2 separate regions of the Homo sapiens genome follow, and region 1 is linked to region 2. The links are contacts of gene promoters, found by promoter capture Hi-C in blood cells and fetal thymus (Javierre and others, 2016). All regions are on one chromosome and are shown on one strand. Each heading gives the region's core, a stretch centred on a gene start or on the middle of the fragment in contact. The rest is flanking DNA. Distances are from core to core; before and after follow the strand shown.

Region 1 (3,162 bases), core at 49-2,548, 1.1 Mb after region 2:
GTGGTCAAACTCATAGAGACAAAGTAGAATGGTGGTTTCCAGTTGCTGGTGGTTGCCAGTTGCTGGGGAATGGGAAGTTAGTGTTTAATGGGCAAAGAGGTTCAGTTAGGGAGGATGAAAAAGTTCTGGATATGGATGGTGGTGATGGCTGCACAACAGTGTCAAATATACTTAATGCTGCAGAACTGTATACTTTAAAATGGTAAGTTTTATGTCTATTTTACCACAATAAAAAAAAATTGGAAATGAATGATTACTGAAAAAAGAATCACAGTCACGAGGATAAAGAGTAAGTTACTGTTCAGACAAAGAGGATAGAAGAAACTATATTTTTACATGTACTTTATTATTTTCATATGGTACCTGGATTTCAAGCTCAGCAATGTGTTGTCGTAGTTCAGCCACAGCAGCTATGCTATCTGCTTCCCGAAGCCTCACAGCCATCACTTCTTCCTTATTCTAGTGTGGTAAACCAAACCGAAACAAAATAAACCAGGTGTGTTTGGAATTCAGATTTTAGAAAAGTAATAGGTTGCATAAACCATACGTTAAGTATTATCTAGCAGGGTCTAAGGCAGCATCCATAATGAAACAATATGCTCAATACATACAACGAAGCAGTGAGATATAAATGTTCACATCAAGTGGAATAAATAACAATTATAAATGGCCATATATCAATTCAAATTAAGTTTTGCCTCCAAAGGAATTTGTGTGAAATTTATGAAAAAACTCCAGGGTTTTAGAGTGTTTTGCATTTTGAAACTGGGGTTCACAGGCTTGTAATATTTCAACTTTAAGTGAGAACATTCAAATTAAGTTGAGAGGGAAAATAACATTAATATTATAAACAATATCCACACATTTTACACAACTAAAAATAAAAAAGCTTTAATAATTATAAATTAATCATAAGCTATAATATTATAATACTAAATGAAAATGAATCAGATTTACATAATTCACGGACTGGCTTTCTTGAAAAATTAACTTTGTTCCCGAATTATTCCAACATAACAGGGTAAAACATACACATTTAATCAGAATGTACTAGGTGCTAGGGTAACAATACATTGGTCATTCTCAAAACCTGCAAAGGCATCACGAAAGATTGAATAAATTAACACACAGCTTAAACACAGGGGAGATATCAGAGTTTGCATCTGTAACATACTTCACAGAGGTATTAATGAACAATTAAAAATTAAATAAAATCCCATATTAGTTCATAAAATCCTCTAATATTCTAAATCTGAGCCCATTACTTAGACAAGTTCAAAGAAAATTATTATTTTCAACAGCAAGTTCCTCAAAGATTTATTTCCAAAGAACACTTTACTTTGCTCAACAGGTACTAAGGCATTTGAGGAGCAATATTTAATCTAGTAACACCATTATCAAAATATGTTTAAGGAAAACTAACACCAATAATAAATAAAAGATTAAATTTAGTTATCTATAAGATGTCAACACAGACAATTTAGCATCATAAAAACTCAATCAGATATTGGTATGACAAATCAGACTGATACAACCTCATTTAATATTATTTTATTTATAGTTTAGTCATATCCTTCAAAAGTGACTGTGCTTTTAGTAGGAATTTCAGTACTGCCTACAGATTTCTGTCAGTATACATTGTAACAGCCATGCATATTTATAAGGATGTAATTTCATCTCTGGATTTCAGTGACACTGATAAACCATTCAAGCTTCACTCTTGGTTTTTAATGTCACCAGAATAAGCTGATGGAATTACAGCTTTACATGTGCCATCAAAAGTCTTATTTCTTATACAATAATAAGGCTGGAATCTTTAAAGGGCATCATTCCTACTATCTCACCATGGAAAGGTGGATGCCTAGTTTATTTTTTTAAATCCCATAACTTGCCTTTAGTAATCCATTCTAATGCCCAGTCTACAGTCATCTCTTTAGTTATTTCACACACACACACACACACACACACACACACACACACCCCCCCAAACCCTCCCTCCTCTCCTTCCATCTCACTGCCTTTCCCCCACTCTCTCACCACTGCTATATTGTAAATTTATTTCAGGAAAGAATGTACTTGCATTCAAATACTTTTGATGCTTTTTGAATCCAAACACTTCACAAAAAAGTAAAGTATATAACTGATTAAAATAATAATGGGTAATATACCCATTTTTCCCAACACACTGGTACATACACATTTCTTTTGCTCTCTAGTCTATCCAGAAAACATGTATCAATGTTATTAACATTACTGCCCACTAATAAGATACCAATCAAAGCAGAGGAGCCCTAACCTCTCTAAATGACCCATCTTTTTTGATCAAGCCATTAAAAGCTCTGGTTTTAAAGGGTTACCAGTCAAAAGAAAAACTGTAAAGAAATACTAGTAAATGCCAATCCAGGAAATTAAATTAACCAAGGAAGTGACTGAAAATGTTTCTTGACTAAAATCCACCCCAGAAGCAAGATGAGCTGACCTGGTCTGAAAGCAACTACCAAAACAAGTTCAGGAAAAGTAGAAAATAGGACGAGCTTTTTTGTTTTGTTTTTAAGATAATCTAATCACGATAAAACAAACAAAAAAAAGGCATTATTATATTGACAAAAAACAAAATCAGTTAGTTGACATATTTACCTTGCATTCAATCTCTGCTTGTTTACGCTTTGCTTCACTTAATTGAGTAAGGAGTCCTTTGTTCTGTGCAGAAAGATACTGCACTTTCTCCTGTAGGCTAATCACCTCTTGTTCTGCTCTTCGAAGATGGTTACTATTGATCTGGTTCTAATAATCAGAAATATAAATACTGAGACTATAGATACAAGACCTAAAAATTAAAAAAAATTACCTATCCATTTTATACCATAACATTATTAAAAATGTTACTAGTTATAGGTCACTGTTATTCAACAAAATCAACATTAAAAAATAAGATAAAACTGCCTTTAAAATCAAGTCATTCAAGGCTGAGGCGGGCGGATCACAAGGTCAGGAGATCAAGACCATCCCGGCTAACGCGGTGAAACCCCGTCTCTACTAAAATTACAAAAAAAAAAAATTAGCCAGGCATGGTGGCGGGCACCTGTAGTCCCAGGTACTCGGGAGGCTGAAGCTGGAGAATGGCGTGAACCCAGGAGGTGGAGCCTGCAGTGAGCGGAGACT
Region 2 (3,494 bases), core at 373-2,872:
GGGTATTTTAATAAGTATTATGTAGAAGGAAGGAAGACTAGACTGAGGTTAAAACTATAATTGGTAAAGAAGCAGCAGGCACTCATATTAGCTAGGATAAGGAGATATTTGATCATTTTTATGGCTTGGGCAATGTTGATGTTGTGTCTGTGTTCACATATGATTATAGAGTGATCTTACTTTTGTCTTGATCTATCACGGTCACAACTCTGTCTTGTCTGATGTTCTGTGAAATTGTTTATGTTCAACAGAAGAATACCAATGCTTGGCTGTGATTGCCAGGCCAGCTCAAAGCAACAGCAAACCAAGCTGGTAGTACCAGGCCATCTCCTGGATGTCAAGGTCTGCTTTTCTCTTTCTCGGTATCCACACTAGAATCCTTGATTTACTCTCTTCCACCTCACTCAATCAAAAACCATTACCTCACAGACTTCCCTTCTATGTGGCACTACCACCCACACATATGCTAGCCCAAAACCTAAGATTCACTGTTGATGATGCCCTTTTCTTCATTTTCCATAGCCAATCACCAAATCCCATTGTCTTCTTTCTTTTATTTCTTCCGCCATTGTTCTGGTCCAAACTACCATTATGTTTCTCCTAAACATAAAGTGCATCCTATTTCCTCTGCTTCCACACTTGCCCCTCTACAATCCATTCTCTTCATAACAGATAGATCATATTACTCCCTTGCTTTAAAACTTTCAAATAGCTTCCAATTGTACTCAGAACAAACACTAAACTTCTTACCCTGGCTTTCAAGGACCCTGGTCTGGCTTCTGCCTAACTCTCCACCTTCATCTATCTGGGACTATCTTGCGGCTCACTCACTATGCTTCCCCCACACTGGCCTTTCCTGCCCTGCCCCTGCAACATACCAAGTTCCTCTTTCTCTCTGCATTTGCCCTATCCTTTCTTTGCCAGGACAACAGTCTCCCTACCAGCTCTTTCTCATCCAGGTCTCTTTGAGAGGGCTTCCCTGACCATCTAGATGCCACCTTCCTGGTCAGTATTTCCCTCAAGTAGTAATCAATGCCGGAAAGAATACTGTTCATTTATTCATCCGTTATTGTCATCGCTTCATTGGAATTTAGCTTCCTACAGGGATGGTGTTTATCTTGCTCACTATGATTCCAGCCCCTAGAAAAACCCACCTACCTCATAGCCAAGGGCTCAGTAAATAGTATACACTGCCTTCCTGCCACTGTGCTAATTTCTACTAACACAGCCACAAACAATCAGCAATTACATTTTCTGCTTGTTTTTAACGGGGAAGTAGGGCACTCAACGAAAAGGAAATAAAAGCAGAGTCAAGAAAGTGCCTTTTATCCATGGAGTGCCCAATGTGTTGTGCGGCCGGCCACGTATATAGGGATGTGTCAGCACCTGAGATTTTTCCTTCTCTGAGCTAGCTTCTTTCCTGGAAATCATGCTGGGCCCTTAGCCTTATGGTTCACCCTGTTTTTTAAGATCATCCACGGGCTTCATTCCCGTAACCGCTCTTCTAGCTGGCCAAGGCGGCGGGAAGAAACCCCACCCTCTTGCGCAAACGCCCAGTAGCGGAATCCGCGGGGTCGAGGGCTTTAGTGTGCGCATGTGCAACCAGAGCGGCGGCGGGAAGTGTTGCGCAGGCGCATCCGATCGACTCGGTAGGTGGGGATCTCTTGGAGACGGCGACCCAGGCATCTGGGGAGCCACAGAAGTCGTACTCCCTTAAACCGTGAGTTTCCGACGGTTTGTTCCATGGCGCGGGATTGTGAGGGATTAGGAACGAATTCTGGATCGTGACTTCGGTTTTCTCGCCGTGCAGTTCCTTTTCCCGCCCCCCTTCGGATCCCTCCGACCTGCGGCGGGAAAGTCGCGCGCCTGCGCACTAAGCATCTGGTTCGGTCTCTGGCCCGAGGGAAGCCGGTCCTTCCCGGCTGAGCTCGCGGCCAGCGCTGGCCGGCGGATTCCCATTCATTCACCCTTCTCCTCCTCCGCCCAGTACTCGTGGCCAGGGTCGTATCAGTTCTCCGTCAACTTGCTTGGGGCCTTGGACGAGCCTCCTGGCGCTTCCTGTCAGTGGCGAAAAGGTTTTCTCCCTCAGTTCTTTTCCTGACTTCAAACCGCCCCCGGCGCTCGGCCCCTCCCCCACGCGGTCCCGCTGGCTGTGCCGGACTGGCAGCCTCGCCGTTTCCCACTGCGCCTGCTGCTGCGCGGGTGCCCAAGCCGGGAAATTCTCCCTGCAGCCCCCTGCCGGTGTTTCTGATAGGTGAAAATAAAGCACATGGAATTCCTTAGACAAGGCCACAGTATGCCCTACTGTGGAGGTTTGGACACATCGTGCGTTTGAAAATGTTTGCCCCTTTGGGGGGCAGTAGCATGTTTTTAGTGCGTGGTTTAGCGAGTGATCTAAATTTCTCTAGTGTTCTAATTTTCACAGCTGCTTTGCTCCCCCTGTGGATGTAACCCCTTAGCTGGCATTTTGCATCTCAATTGGCTTGTGATGGAGGCGTCTTTGGGGATTCAGATGGATGAGCCAATGGCTTTTTCTCCCCAGCGTGACCGGTTTCAGGCTGAAGGCTCTTTAAAAAAAAACGAGCAGAATTTTAAACTTGCAGGTACGTGTTTAAATCCAAAGATGTACAGTTATAAAGATTTTTCAGGCAACAATTCTGTGTTTTCAATTCCTCTCAAAAAATAAGATTGAATCTTATAAAGTGAATTGTATGTTTCTATAGGACAGTGTTAAAACAGAGCTTCGTATGATCTAAATGTAGGACTGAATTGCGATTTGGAAGACTGTAATACAACCTGTTTTACGGTTGAAGTTGCTATGGTCTCAGTATTGGTAATTAAGAATGCAGAAATTTGATGATGCCCAAATTAAATTTCTCTTTTGTATCTGTGTTCTTATCTCTACTCACCACATTGCCTTAAGCTTAAATGTAGAAATTGACACTGGAGATCATCACTTAAGTATTCAAAAGCAGAACTCACAGACAAAAAAATATGAAATGTTTGTAGCAATAATAAAGCACCATATCTCAGTGTACAGCATGAAATGTTCTTTGACCGTAAACCAGACCTTAGGGTGAATAAGACAGGGTCAAGCAGTGCCTGCTCTTGTACACTCGCATGTGTACCTTCATTTCTGCTCTGGCACAGGACCTGGGACATAGTAGGTATTTGTTAATAATAAATATTTGTTAAATAGAGGAATTCTAGTTGACTGTATTTTTTTTTTTCTGAAAGGGTAGCCAGATCATCTTTCCCATCTTTGTCTTAAGTGAATTCTGTGCTTGTCTAAAAGATACTTATTTTGACCTTTTGTCCATATATTCTTTATAACCCCACCCTAGAAAAATATGACATCACATACTTTCTGCTTTGATGGAAGTCAGTTATCCCACTTACCTAAACTTGAAACTTTAATCTTCAGCTGATGCTTTTTATTTGTTCCCCATATCGTCACCTAGCTTTATTTCTTTTTAGTAAGTATGGCATTGTGT

What was found. The method cuts DNA at HindIII sites, captures the fragments that hold promoters and counts their contacts. A CHiCAGO score of 5 or more calls a contact.
Region 1: a fragment that was not itself captured here is called in contact with the fragment with the promoter of CDC7 in region 2 in 1 of 17 cell types (activated CD4 T cells); the score reaches 5.2 in activated CD4 T cells.

What each region holds. Positions count from the first base shown.
Region 1 is chr1:92,604,944-92,608,105 of GRCh38, forward strand. EVI5 (ecotropic viral integration site 5) reads right to left here. Exons shown (of 20, transcript NM_001350197.2): 17 at 2,638-2,784; 18 at 364-459. Among named protein-coding and RNA genes, the nearest start is that of GFI1, 120 kb to the left of the region's middle. The HindIII fragment of the contact is 823 bases long and covers 888-1,710 here.
Region 2 is chr1:91,499,229-91,502,722 of GRCh38, forward strand. CDC7 (cell division cycle 7) reads left to right here and starts at 1,623. Exons shown (of 12, transcript NM_003503.4): 1 at 1,623-1,720; 2 at 2,426-2,603. The coding sequence starts at 2,489. LOC105378856 (a long non-coding RNA gene) reads right to left here and starts at 1,620. Exons shown (of 3, transcript XR_947599.4): 1 at 1-1,620. RefSeq lists an enhancer at 2,265-2,464. The HindIII fragment of the contact is 5,865 bases long and covers 1-2,921 here.